2 separate regions of the Homo sapiens genome follow, and region 2 is linked to region 1. Evidence: promoter capture Hi-C in 16 types of primary human blood cells and fetal thymus (Javierre and others, 2016). All regions are on one chromosome and are shown on one strand. Each heading gives the region's core, a stretch centred on a gene start or on the middle of the fragment in contact. The rest is flanking DNA. Distances are from core to core; before and after follow the strand shown.

Region 1 (6,710 bases), core at 1,062-3,561:
TCCCTCCCTCCCCAACAGAAATGGAACCAAGAGAGGCAGAAGCCTGAACAGCCTCAATGCAGAAGCACAGAAGATAGAGAAAACCATTGATCTTTGCAATGCATTATTGATTTTGCTGTTGTGCTGTCAGCAGCGGACGTTCCCTCCCTCCTCAGTCAAAGCTGGCCATTAGCGTGCACTCCCAAGCTTTGGCCTAGACACACCCGCTTGGTGTGGGGAAAGCGGCTCTAGGTAACATCTGCCTCCAGCGGTCCACATGGAGAGGACTGTCCACAAGTGGATGATGTCACCAAGGACATCTCCCTGGCCCCAGACCCACTGGATATCAAATGCAACATGGTCGCTGGTCTTGCACTCTAAACCTCAGCCCAGGACCCCAGGCACTCAGGGGGGTCTGTGCAAGGCTGCATTTTCAACAGACTCTGGGTGTGCTTCTCAGGAGGTGGGCCCCCTCCCATGGAGTCCCTCCCTTGTGCTGTGCTGCAAGACCTTGGGCTGGCATGGCAGCTGGGGCTCTGCATCCCCACGGTGGCCTTTTGCCTGTCTGCACTCTGAAATACAGCCACTGAGTTCCACCGTCTACCAACTCCTAAGCGGCCCACCCTCCTGGGACCCCAGGGCTGCTCCTGGCACCAGTGATGTGTTTCTATTTCTTTGTTTGACTCGCTGAGTGTACCACGTACACTCTTCTCAGTCTGAAGGTCTGGCCTTATGGGAGGGCAGTCTTTGCTCACAGAAACAGGCCAGTGCATCCCTCATCTTCCCACCCCAGCCTCCCTGGTGGGTATGCTGAGCCCGCCTGCTTTCTTCTTCTGGCTGACGACTACCAAGACATGATATACGCAGACACCAACTGTCAAAATGACAATCAGGGCATTATCATCTCTACCAGAATCCTGCCCCTGCACTGGCCAGAGCTGCCTGTTTCTGGGACACAGTAAACATTCCCAAATAACCTCGCCTGGGCAGCCAGCAGGCAGGCCCCAGGCCTAGGACACATATGAGGTGACAGGCCACTGGTGTCACGTCACCCCCAGGAAAGGAAACTTCCGTTCCGTGGCGCCTGGTGGATTTGAAAAGACTCAGAACAGCAGGGTGAGATGCTTGGCCCCAGGCCCCACGTCCAGCTTGGCCTTCGGGGGCCTGGCCACCCACGAGCCTGGGATGTGCTCAACACAGAGTGAGGTTTTCAAAACAAAAGCAAAGCAACTTCATGTGGAAAACCTTCCGGAAAGCAGGACCCAGCCCTCGACACCAGGCCTCATTTGACGCAAACTGCCCACTTACAGACTCCCATTCACCCACTCTCCCACCTACCCCCCAAAATACTAAGCCAGAAAATAGAGGACAACCACGAGTTCAACTCTCCTTTACACGTTTTTACTGGCATAACCCCAGTAGAGCCAGCCCCTTGCAGCTCACTAGGCGGCTGCAACAGGTGCAGCCCAAGCTAAGGCTTGTGGTTCTCCTGGGCTGTTCTAGAATAATGCAACCAAAACCCGAAAGGAAACCGAGGCCTGCAGCACTCACTGCCAAGGCGGCGACCTGACCACTGCGGCCCAACCTGCCCCACCTGTCTGAGTGCGCGGCGCCGGGTCCAGTGCACAGGGTCCGCGGCCTCCGCGACCAAAATAGAAGCCCGCGGGGGCCCGGCCAGAGCCCGGCTGGCCGGAGTGGGGCCTGACCTGGCGGGGCCGGACTGGGCGGGCCGGGGCGCGACGGGGCCTGGCCGAGCGCACCGCCCCCTCCCTGGCCCGGGTATGCAGCGCGCCCCCGCTCCCCCGCGCCCAGAGGAGCCACCTGCGCGCAGGGACTGGGGAGGCAACCGGGAAGGGGAGAAGGCCGGGGAGGGATAGCAGAGAGGTCCAGGGGGTCGGAGGGGTCCGGGTAGGTGTCTCTGGGAGGCGTCCCAGGAGGGGCCCCGGGGGGATCCAGGAAGGAGTCCAGGGGTCCGGGGATCCCAGAAGGAGGCTCCTGCAGGGGTTCGGGGAGGGCCCCGAGGGTCCGGTGAGGAGCCTAGGGGTGTGGAGTGGGGGCTCCGCGGAGGGTCCAGGCCGCCCCCAGCGCACCTGCCCGGCCCCGCGCGCCCTCCCTCCCGCGCCAGCCCGGCCGCTTACCTGCAGCGCGCGTCCTGCCCGCGGCGGCTCCCGGCCGGGCGAGTTCGGGCGCCAGGAATGGCGGCGGCGGCGGCGGCGGCAGCGGCGGGAGGCGGCCGGGCCGGGGAGGGGGTGGCGGGGAGGCCCGGCGGCGGCAGCGGCGGCTGGGATGCTGCGGCGCGCGAGAGCGCTGAGGCCGGCGCGGGGACGGAGTGCGCGGGGCGGGCGCGCAGGCCCCTCCTCCGCTCCCCCTCCCTTCCCGCCTCCTCCCCTTTCCCTTCCCCTTCCTCTCCCCCTTCTTCTCTTCCCTCCTATGGCCCCGCCCCTTTCTTCCTCCTTCCTCCTCCCTCCTCCTCGCCCCTGCTCACCTCCCTCCTTTCCCTCCCCCAACCTTTCTTTTCCTCCCTTCTCTTTTTCCTCCTCTTTCTTCACCTTCGCAACACTCTTCCACCTCTCTCCCCTTCTCCCCACTTTTGCTCCCCACTCCTTCCTCCTCACCTCCCATCTCTCTTGCCTCCCCGCCAGGCCCAGAGGGTTGTCCCTCAGCCCTGGGTTGGTCTCTGCTGAGTCAAGCACCCGTTCCCAGGACCAAGAGGTGCCCTGTCACCCTCTTCCTCACCAGCTCTCAATAGACAAGCTTGCCCCTTCTGGGGTCCTGGATGAACCCCACCCTTTCCAGGCCTCCCCCAAATCCCCCAGTTTTTTTTCACCCCCAGACCCTGGGCCAGCTCTTCTGAGAACCTGACCTGCAGTGTGCGTGAGGCACGTGGCACCCAGAACACTTGGCTGCTGACTTTGGGCAAGAATATTTCACACCAGGCTGCTCCCATTCCCCAGGGGAGGGGCTGGCACCACCTGGAGTCTTGGTTTCCCTGAACCCCCGTGCTAGCCTTTTGCCAAACGTTCATCATTTTCCACTCTGTATGGCAAATGGTCCTCCTGTGAGGCTGCTGGTGAGACTTGTTTGTGACTAGCCCATGGGTTTGGGGATCTGGGGGCCCTCAGAGATGGTGCTGCTCCATCCAGACCTCTTCCCTCTGCCCCCAGGAGAGGTGACAGGGCTCGCACAGTGACTGGCCAGGCTGGGAGGCCTATTGAGGAACACAGTCCTGAGAAGGGGACACAGTTTCTTACGGAACCAGCTAAGATTTCCCCTAAATGTGAGGAGTTGGGGAGCCCCTCTCCAGGCCAGGTGATACCTCCCTGGACTACAGACTGCTGTTGAGGGGCAGGGGCCCTGAGGCTGTTTTCCTGCTGAGCACTGGCTCTGAGAGCCAGAGTTTACAAATGAAGCCAGTCCCAGGCCCAACAGTCACAGAGTTAAAGGCCCAACAGTCTCAGAGTTCCGTTCTAGGGCCTCCTGTGGTTTCTGTGGTTCAGTGCCGGAGCTCTGAGAATAGGGCTTCGGCCCAGCAAAGGCTAAGATGGCAAAGCTGGTGTCAAGCAGGGTGGGGTGGAGCACGCACCCCCTCCTCCCTCTACGGCATGGCAGCCACCACCCTCTTGCTGAAGAATCCAGACCTGGAATCTGATAGACTCCCTTGACTCACAGCTCTGCAGTTTCCAAATAACCTCAGGCCTCAGCAAACCTCTGTACCCTGCAACATGAGGACAGTGTGGTCGTCCTGGAGGGTTTGGGGAGCACGGAGAGAGAATGGCAGGTAAAGCCCACTGCACCGTGTGCTCGGGTTCAGTGCTGGTGACTATTACAGGAAAAACTAGAGAAGTCTTTTCCAAGCTCTTTTCCAATTGTAGGGGTCCATGAATCCATGTTCCACATCCCATTTGGATTGAAACATAATGGGAACGGATTAGGACAGAACTGGTTTAACAGCATTCTATACCCAAGGAGGGATGCACGCTTAGGATCTACACATGCAAGCATTGCACTGATTGGGGTGGGGTGGGGGGACTCTCTTTTATTCCTCACTAGTCAGACACATCTAGAATACCATGCCCTTGCTTGGTGTCTAAGGCAGCCAGCAGTATCCCGTGGGAGGGGAGTTGACCCACCGGGAGTCTTCAGCCTAGAAAATCAATGTGTGGAGCACAAGACAGAAGAACCCCAATATGTGCAAAACTGTCCCGGGAAGAAGGATTACTCTGTGGTGTTATGAAGGGCAGAATGAGGACAGATGGGTGGAAATTAGATGAGAAAGTGGATTCCTGCCTATCGTGGGCGCTTTCTGACAGACCTCACTGTGGAAGAGCCGGCTGCCCCTACAGGAGCGTGCCCTTCACAGCCAGCGTCTAGACAGGCCTGGGGCCACCTTGGGAACACACTGCAGGGAGGGGACCAGCAGCAGAGGGGTATGCTTCTCAACAACTGCTGAATTCTCTCCTGGCTTTTAGACCCACATGCTCAGAATCTAATAGAGGGCAGCCCAGGGCAAAGAAGAGACTTTGCATGGCTGTCCTGGGGCCCACACTTCTGGCATCATGACCTTCCAGAATACTGTCCTCTCTAGCCTGTTTCCTAATGCATACAGAAGAACATGAGAGAATTCAGTAAAAACTCCAAAAAGCTTTCCGCAATGCCCAGGCTGCGAACACAAGGGCTTCTTTGCACCGTGCTTATATAAAATTGCCCCCAAACATGTTTATTGCATTCATGAAGGAGACAGGACTCTTAGTTGTAAGTGATAGAACTTCAGCCCATACTATTGGCTCACTTGCATCCAAAGATGCCCCAAGTACCATTAGAACCGGGACTTGGATGCCATTATTAGGTCTTCCTCTTCCCTCCTCTCTGACCTTCTTCCCTGTTCCCTTCTCTCAGCATGATTGCCTATGTCTCCCAAAGTGACCAAGCTTGCCTTTTTATTCTTGTTTCACACTCTGTCGTGGGACATTTCAAACATAGATATAAAAGTAGCAGGCTGGGTGCAGTGGCTCACGCCTGTAATCCCAACACTTTGGGAGGCTGAGGCAGGCGGATCACCTGAGGTCAGGAGTTCGAGACCAGCCTTGCCAACATGGTGAAACCCCGTCTCTACTAAAAATACAAAAATTAGGTGGGCATGGTGGCACAAACCTGTAATCCCAGCTACTCAGGAGGCTGAGGCAGGAGAATCACTTGAACCCGGGAGGCGGAGGTTGCAGTGAGCCAAGATCATATACCACTGCACTCCAGCTTGGGCGACAGAGCAAAACTCAGTCTCAAAAAATAAAAATAAAAGTAGCTAAATGAACTCCAATCTTGCCTTACCTCTCACCCCCTTACTTTCCCCTCCAATATTAAGTTCAAGCATATCAAAGATCATATTAACCAATCTATTTCCTAGTTTCCCCAGAAATGCCAAGTGTTTGGATACTGAGACCATGCTTTGCAAAGTTTCTCTGCATTTCCCAGCCAGAATGTTGACACCATCTATATGCATATGAGCATAGTAACTGGATTGATAATAGTTAAGTCCCATATGAGAAAAAAACTCAAGTATGGCAGCACAAATAATACTCAGCTTCCAACACGGCCCAGGTGGATATGAGGAGAGAGGATCCTCTGCTTCCACTTTGCAGTGCAGGAGGGAACAGGCACGTAGTGGGCTGGGAGCCGTTTCCAGATCGCCCAGTGTGGAGCCTTACGCAGTGGAGGAGGTGTCTTCAGAAAGAGTCGGCCTGCCGCCTCTCACCTGTAGTGGCATGCAGAGTGTCCAGGCTAAGCTTAGAGAGAGAGTCAGCACAGCAAGTGGAGAAACGGGGTCCTCTGAGGGACTGTGGGAAGGTTGGCTCTGGGACCTGCCAGCAGCTTCTAGAAAAGTCCGGGGAGATGTCCTTTGAATGTGACCACACTCTGCAGAGACGTGGGTGAGCCACACCTCCACTGTTACCATGCAGTGGCTGCCAAGACCATGCTGTGACTCCTACTCCTAGCTCTGTTCCTCCCCGCACCCCAGAAAAGGCTGGTAAGAGTGTGGCCTTCCTGGCCAGCCTCTCCAAAATAGAGAGTCCACACCGGTCTCTGTCAGGCACCCTGATTGTTAGAACATGTCAATGAAGGAAGCCGAAAGGGATTTTGAAGGCTCTGAGATCCCCAGGCACCTCTAGCACCCTCATATGTCCTTACTGCCACTGAGACCCCCACAGGACCCACAGAGCTCTTTTTGTTAAAGCCACACTTGGAAACGTGGGGTCACACCAGCAGAAGCATAGAAATGAAGGCCGTGCTGAGATGTTATCATTGCTCTGTGCTCCTGCACAGCGTTCAACTGTCAAACCACTAAGTGCTAGATAAATCTGGTGAAGGGGTGTAATCCATTTTTGGTGCACACACTCATGGCAGCACTTCCCACATCACTGAACATGCAGAATGGTTTACCAAGCCATCCTTCGTCATACTGGGGAGTGTACAGGATGCTGATGTGGCCCCATCTGACCATTGATCTAATCAGTGCTGGTGTCTGCTGGATTAGACTTGCCCCAGCAAGTGAACTTGCCCCAGCAATGCCTTTCTGACCTTTAAGGTGACTGCTGTCACCAACTGCCAGACCATGGACCTCTTCGCATCCCTGGCTGGCTGGCAGACACCCACTTATGTGTCAAGGCTCTGCCCTGGCATCATTTCCTCCAACACAAACCCATGCACCCTGGGCAGAGCTAATATCCCCCACCCTG
Region 2 (6,710 bases), core at 1,852-4,351, 600 kb after region 1:
GGAGCCTGCAGAATAACTCCTGCAAGACTGGACGATGGACTGGGGGGCCATTGGCATAGGGAGCTGGCGGGGGGTGGATGCTCATGCACTGTGCCCTCCAACTGGCAGAAATGCCAGATTCCCTGGGTTGCAGGCTGAGCTCCGAGAGGCTATTGGAAGGTGAGGAGGAAAGAGCAGGCATCAGCCCGGATGAGGGGATGCCAGAGCAACAGCGGTTCCCAGAAAACACTGTCCATGCCGGCAGCATCAGCAGACGCTGCTTTAGCTTAGAAAGCCTTCCCAGGCACATGATCTCACTTAATTCTCCTAATGCTCTTGGGGTAGGTAAGGCAATGTGTCCATTTTATAGAGGAGGAAGTGGGGCTCCCAGAGACCCATACAGCAGCAAGCAAAGTGTGCTCTTGGGCATTGTAACCCCTCCAGGCCACAAAGGCACCTAGGTGTTTGTGGGTGTATCCTTCCTTTCTTCCAACGCCTTGCTTGTCTGTAAACCAGCTCGCATTTATATCTGGAAGAACTTCATTATCAACCTGTCCCAGAACCTTCTTATCAGATGCCCCAGGCTAAAGGATTGGGGCCAGATTTTTCCATTGTCCTTTCCAAAGAAGATCAGCTCAGTAATAATTACCCCCCACCACCAGCAGAGAGGTTACATCAGGGCAGCTGGCAGTGGAACCCTGAAAGAGTGCGGCTGCACATTCACCTGTCCACAGGTGAGAGCGGAGAGTGGTGCCACATACTCAGCTAGCTTTCCCCAATCAATGGGAGTTCATAAAAACAGACTTAAAGGCAAGACACATTGCTTTCTCGCTGGCCAGTGACAATGACAGAAAGCACAGGAGCTTAGAGGAGAAAGGCCCTCCAGCCCTGCGAGGAGCCTCCATAGAAACACACACCAGCCCAGCTCCTCTCCATGTGACGGTGACCCAGATGGGAAGGTTGGGAGTGAAAGGCTGGGCGGCAATGATGCCCGGCAACTGTCGCTGCCCAGGGTTCGGGCCTCTCTGTGCTGTTGCTGAGAAGCATGGGCCCTGGTCTCCAGGGGCTGGACTCACTGAGGGCTGAGTCTGCTGTTCTCACTTGAGTGCCGAGACCCGGCAGGCACTGCTTCCTAATCCAGCCGCTCCTCTCCTCCCTGTGGTGTCTGTGAGGCAAGGGCTCCCCAGAACACCTGTGCTTCACGCACACACACCACATCACACACAGCACACATCACATTACACCACACAGCACACACACCTCACATCACACCACATACCCCACATCACACCATACACCACACATCCCACATCACACCACACACCACACTCACACATCACATCACACACCCCACATACATGCAGCACACATGCCACATCACACCACACACCCAACATACACGAACCACACACACATCACACATATCATATCACACCACACACCCCCCATATATATGTGCACCACACACACATCACACCACCCACCACGCACACATCACAGCACACATCACATACACACCCCATACCCCACACACCACATACACATCACATACCATCATACACCACACCATACCACACACACAAACCACACCCCACACACACACACAACACACCAAACATAACACACCACACACTGTTGTGTGCAAGTATGTGTATGTATATACCACATACATACTTGGCATACACACATACACTTGTATGTGGTATATACATACTTGCACACAACACACGCCAAGCACATCACATCACACAGATGTACCACAGACATACGCCACATACATACACCATATACCACACAAACAACACACACCACACACATCAAACACATCACACCATACATATAGGTACCACACACACACCAAAACACACAGCATGCACACGCACACATGACATACTGCACTACACACACCACACGCATACACACACAACACAGCACACACCACAAACCACTCATTTAAAGAGAAGCATTTCAACTGTGAGTTTCCACTGCCACCTAAGGGTTCAAATGTGAGAGAGCCAGTTCAAAGGAAAACAACCTCAGACCGAGCTTGTCTGACTTTGAATGTGGCCCAACACAAATTCATACACTTTCTTTAAACTTTATGAAATTCTTTTGCGATTTTTTTGTAACTCATCAGCTGTCATTAGTGTTAGTGTATTTTATGTGTGGCCCAAGACAATTCTTCAAATGTGGTCCAGGGACGCCAAAAGATTGCACACCCCTGCTTTGGATCTTAAAATAAGTATGATCTGGGTCAAGGAACAGCTGCTTATTTTTTAAGCTCAAGGGCCCAGGAGGATTCCATGAGGGGAAGGAGATGTGCGTAATTTGGATAAGAAACTCACAATCTTAATTTAATAGAATCCTCTTTCCACTTTTTTGAGCTCCAGAGATCACACAAGCGGTGTGTGTGTAAATATATATGCATGTGTGTTTGCAGGTTTATATGTGCACGTGTGCACACGTGCATGTTTGAGAGATGGTGTGTTTTGAGTGTGCACATCTTTGCACATCTGTCGGAGGAGGGTAGGCAGCAAAGGATGTTCCCTGGGAAGGCATTGTTGTAGAAAGAATCTCACAAAGGAAATATTCAGAAGCCAAGGGTGGTGGGAAGAGGGCCAAGGGGAGGGCTGGGCAACTTGAAATTACACTTACTTATCTGGTTCTCTCGACAAGTAGCCTGTTCTGCTGGGCTACTTAGATCCATCTGCAGGCCAGTGCTGTCCTCCACAGGGCAACCGATCAACTTTCATGGGCTTCCAGATCAAAACTGACCAATTAGTATAAAGCTTTCTCTGAAGGGCCTGCCCATCAGTTCTTTTAAATACTCTCAGAATGATTGCATTGTCCAGCCAGGGTTGAAGCCCATGGTCTATAACAGGGGTCAACCAATGTTTTTCCATAAAAGCTCAGATAGCAAGTATCTTCAGGTTTGTAGGCCATATGGTCTCTGTCACAACTACGCTACTCTGCCCTTATAGCCTGAAACCAGCCATAGATAATCTCCAAAGATATAAACGTGACTGAGTCCCAACAAAACTTTAAGGATACTGAAATTTGAATGTCATTTGTTTTTCATTGGTCATAAAGTGTATTTGTTCTTTTCATGTGTTTTCATTCACTGAAAATCCAGAGAGCATCTCGGCTCACAGGCTGTATACACAAGTAGGCTGTGTTGGATTTGGATGTGGGGGCTAGAGCTTGCCTCCCTTGATCTTGATCACTGACTGGCATGTAGCTCAATGTCTACTGTAAGGTCAGGCTGGATTTTTAACCACCACTGGACATGAGTGTCCTGTAATATTGTCAATAAGTTTATTGATATCTTATTATTGATATTTTACATGTATGCAGGATTCATTCTTATTCTTGATAGCATGTCTAATGGGTAACTATTTACGTATTTATTTTCTCACCAAGGAGCATAGTGAAGCCAGCAATCTGAAGTTTGAATTTAAGCTTTTTTGATGATCTCATCTCTAATTTGAAGCCACAGACCTCCAGACAGCAGCAACCTTTAATCTGACAGTCAGAGAAAGGATTAGAGTGACAGTTTGAAGATGGGTTACTCGTGGTCTTGGTTTTTTTTTCCTTTTGTAGTAGAGCATTGTTGCTTTGAAGATTTATAGGTCAAGAATGTTGTAGAGACAGTCATATGCTGCTATTTGCCTGTAGGTAAAGTAAGAATCAAATTTAGCGGCGTTCAGACATGGCTGATATGCCAGGCTGCCAGAGACAAATATGTGAGTGCTTGCTTAAGTTTGGGGCTTAAGAACCATGTTAGTTTCATTTATTTCTGTAGGTATTTTAGGATTTTCAGTTTTGAGTATCTTAGTCAACTTTTTATGTTGATAGTTAATTGCACATTTCATATATCCAACTAAAAAATGTGGAAATAAGCAGATGATCTTTAAAATATAGTTTTCCCTGTTTATCTCGATAAATTCTTTTTTTTTTTTTTTTTTTTTTTGAGAGTGAGTCTCGCTGTGTCACCCAGGCTGGAGTGCAGTGGCCCGATCTCGGCTCACTGCAAGCTCCGCCTCCCGGGTTCATGCCATTCTCCTGCCTCAGCCTCCTGAGTAGCTGGGACTACAGGCGCCCACCACCACGCCCGGCTAATTCTTCGTATTTTTAGTGGACACGGGGTTTCACTGTATTAGCCAGGATGGTCTCAATCTCCTGACCTCGTGATCCGCCCTCCTGGGCCTGCCTCCCAAAGTACTGGAATTACAGGCATGAGCCACTGCGCAAGGCCAATCCTAACTTTTTAAATGACAGACACATTGTTTGCCCTTTGCTTGTAATACTTTGAATGGTTAATTTGTATATCCCTTATTGATCTTCACTACACCTCAATATGAGTACACTGGACAAGGAGCCATGTTTCCATTTTCAGATAGAATAAGAGAAGTTTGAGAAGCTACCATGTAGCTTTATGAGGCAGGTTATCTGTTTTACAAGATGTCTTCAGAGTTTTTTCTATCTCTAATTTTTAAATAATTTTTACATTTTTTTCTACTGTGATTCTGAATTTAAAAAAATGGAACTAACTTCACACTCTAAATTTGCATTTTTGTCATGCTAAGATATATTCCCCTTCATGTAACTTTTCCTTTAATAGCACAAATTACAGCAACACTAGATGGTATTATTTTGAAATAGTTTAGAGAGGATCTTTGTGATTCTTCAACAATTAAGTCCTGCAGACACATCTCCATCTTTGGAGGCTCCCTATCTTTTACCAAGGGTCAAGTATATGGTGACCTTTTCAAACTGTTCCCTGCTAGGTGTCTGAGTTTGGCTCTGAAAGAAATCATTTCCTTTAAGAGCTCGCTCCAAAGCAAAGCCTTTACACGTGTAACATCTCCTTGGCCACATGCGTCACTCTGCATATAAACAGCCTGATTGGCTGGGGCTGCTTAGATCCATCTGTAGGCCAGTGCTGCCCTCCACAGGACAACCGGTCAACCTTCATGGGCATCAGAATTACCTGAGAAGTTCTGCCAAAAAGACACGCCTGAAGGAGCAGGTGCAGGTCTACCTGGAACCCTGGCCTCTGAATGTCACCAAGTGTCCAGGGATTCTTGAAACTTCTCAGGGGACTTTACTCTGTGGTGTGTTGGGCTGTATGGACTGCTGATGTCTCCTCTGAGAGGATTTACAACCCTGGGCACATAAGAATCACGTGGGAGAACTTTAAAAAGTGACAGTCCCAGACTGCACCCCCAGAGATCCTGATTCTGGAAGTCTGGAGTGGGTGTGGGTCAGGCTAATGAAGCTCCTGGAGGCTTGAAGGCTCTGTTAGGTGTGAGCATCCCAGACTCTGCCTGGGTAATTCTAAACCCTGGTTGCACTTCAGCATCGCACAGGGAGACTTATAGACCACTTGTGTCTCATGTGGTGAGCTGAATAAAGTCCGCGAAGATGTCCACTTCTGCATGCCTGGAGCCTATGAATATGTTACTGCTGTGGTCTAAATATTTGTGTCCCCCCAAAAATTGTAGTTTGAAAACCTAATCACCAGTGTCGTGGTATCAGGAGGTGGGGTCTTTGGGAGGTAATTCAGGCAGACTCTTCCCTCATGAATGGGATGTGTACCATTGTCAGAGAGGCCCCAGAGAGCTGCCTTGCTCCTTCCACCATGTGAAGGTGCAGGAAGAAAGCACAGTCTGTGAACCAGGAAGTGGGTCCTGAGCAGACACCAAACCTCCAGGTACCTTGATTTTGGACTTCCTAGCTTCAAGAACTGTGAGAAATAATTGTGTGTGTGTGTGTGTGTGTGTGTGTGTGTGTGTGTGTGTGTGTAAGACAAAGTCTCGCTCTGTCGCCCAGGCTGGAAAGCAGTAGAGCCATCTCAGCCTACTGCAACCTCCGCCCACATCCCTCCCCACTACCCCCTTTCCCCGCCCCCACCCCAGGTTCAGGCAATTCTCATGCCTCAGTCTCCTGAGTAGCTGGGACTACAGGCCCGTGCCACCATGCCTGGCAAATTTTTGTATTTTTAGTAGAGACGGGGTTTCGCCATGATGGCCAGGCTGGTCTCGAAATCCTGGCCTCAAATGATCCACCCACCTTGGCCTCCCAAAGTGCTGGGATTACAGGCATGAGCCACCGCGCCTGGCTGAAAGTTTGTTTTTTGTAAGCACCCAGCTTATGATCGTTTGTTTTAACAGCCCAAATGGATTAAGACAATTACATGGTAAAAAGAACTTTGCAGATGTGATTTGGTTAAGGATCTTGTGATGGGGAGGTTATCCTGATCACCTGGTGGGTACTAAATAAAATCACAAGGATTGCTTATAAGAGGGAGGCAGGCAGTTAAGAGCCAGAGAAAATGTGAAGATGGAAGCAGAGATCAGAGTCATGTGAGGTCTGAGTCAAGGAATGTAGATGACCTCTAAAAACTGAGAAAAGCAAAGACATTGATTCTCCTCTAGATCCTTCAGAAGTAATGCAGCCTGCCAACACTTTGATTTTAGTCCACTGAAACTAATTTTGAACTTCTGACCTTCAGAACTGCAAGATCATAAATCTGTTATTTTAAACCACTAAGTTTATGGTAATTTGTTACAGTGGCAACAGGAAATGAATACAACTGAGACCTCAGCACAGACCATGTAGACCAGAATCTCTGGTGCTCTTTCCTCCCTGCTTCTCCCGTTAAGAAACATCTTAGTTTATGACAGTCTAGTTTGAGTTAACGCCAAATTAATTTCACAGGTATACAAAAA

The links. The method cuts DNA at HindIII sites, captures the fragments that hold promoters and counts their contacts. A CHiCAGO score of 5 or more calls a contact.
Region 2: a fragment that was not itself captured here is called in contact with the fragment with the promoter of SEMA4D in region 1 in 4 of 17 cell types (total B cells, monocytes, naive CD8 T cells and 1 more); the score reaches 6.4 in total B cells.

Annotation. Positions count from the first base shown.
Region 1 is chr9:89,495,802-89,502,511 of GRCh38, forward strand. It overlaps SEMA4D (semaphorin 4D), which reads right to left and starts at 2,312. Exons shown (of 16, transcript NM_001371194.2): 1 at 2,118-2,312. RefSeq lists silencers at 1,632-1,781, 2,212-2,401. The HindIII fragment of the contact is 2,547 bases long and covers 185-2,731 here.
Region 2 is chr9:90,097,569-90,104,278 of GRCh38, forward strand. No RefSeq gene overlaps it. Among named protein-coding and RNA genes, the nearest start is that of MIR4290HG, 59 kb to the left of the region's middle. The HindIII fragment of the contact is 670 bases long and covers 2,767-3,436 here.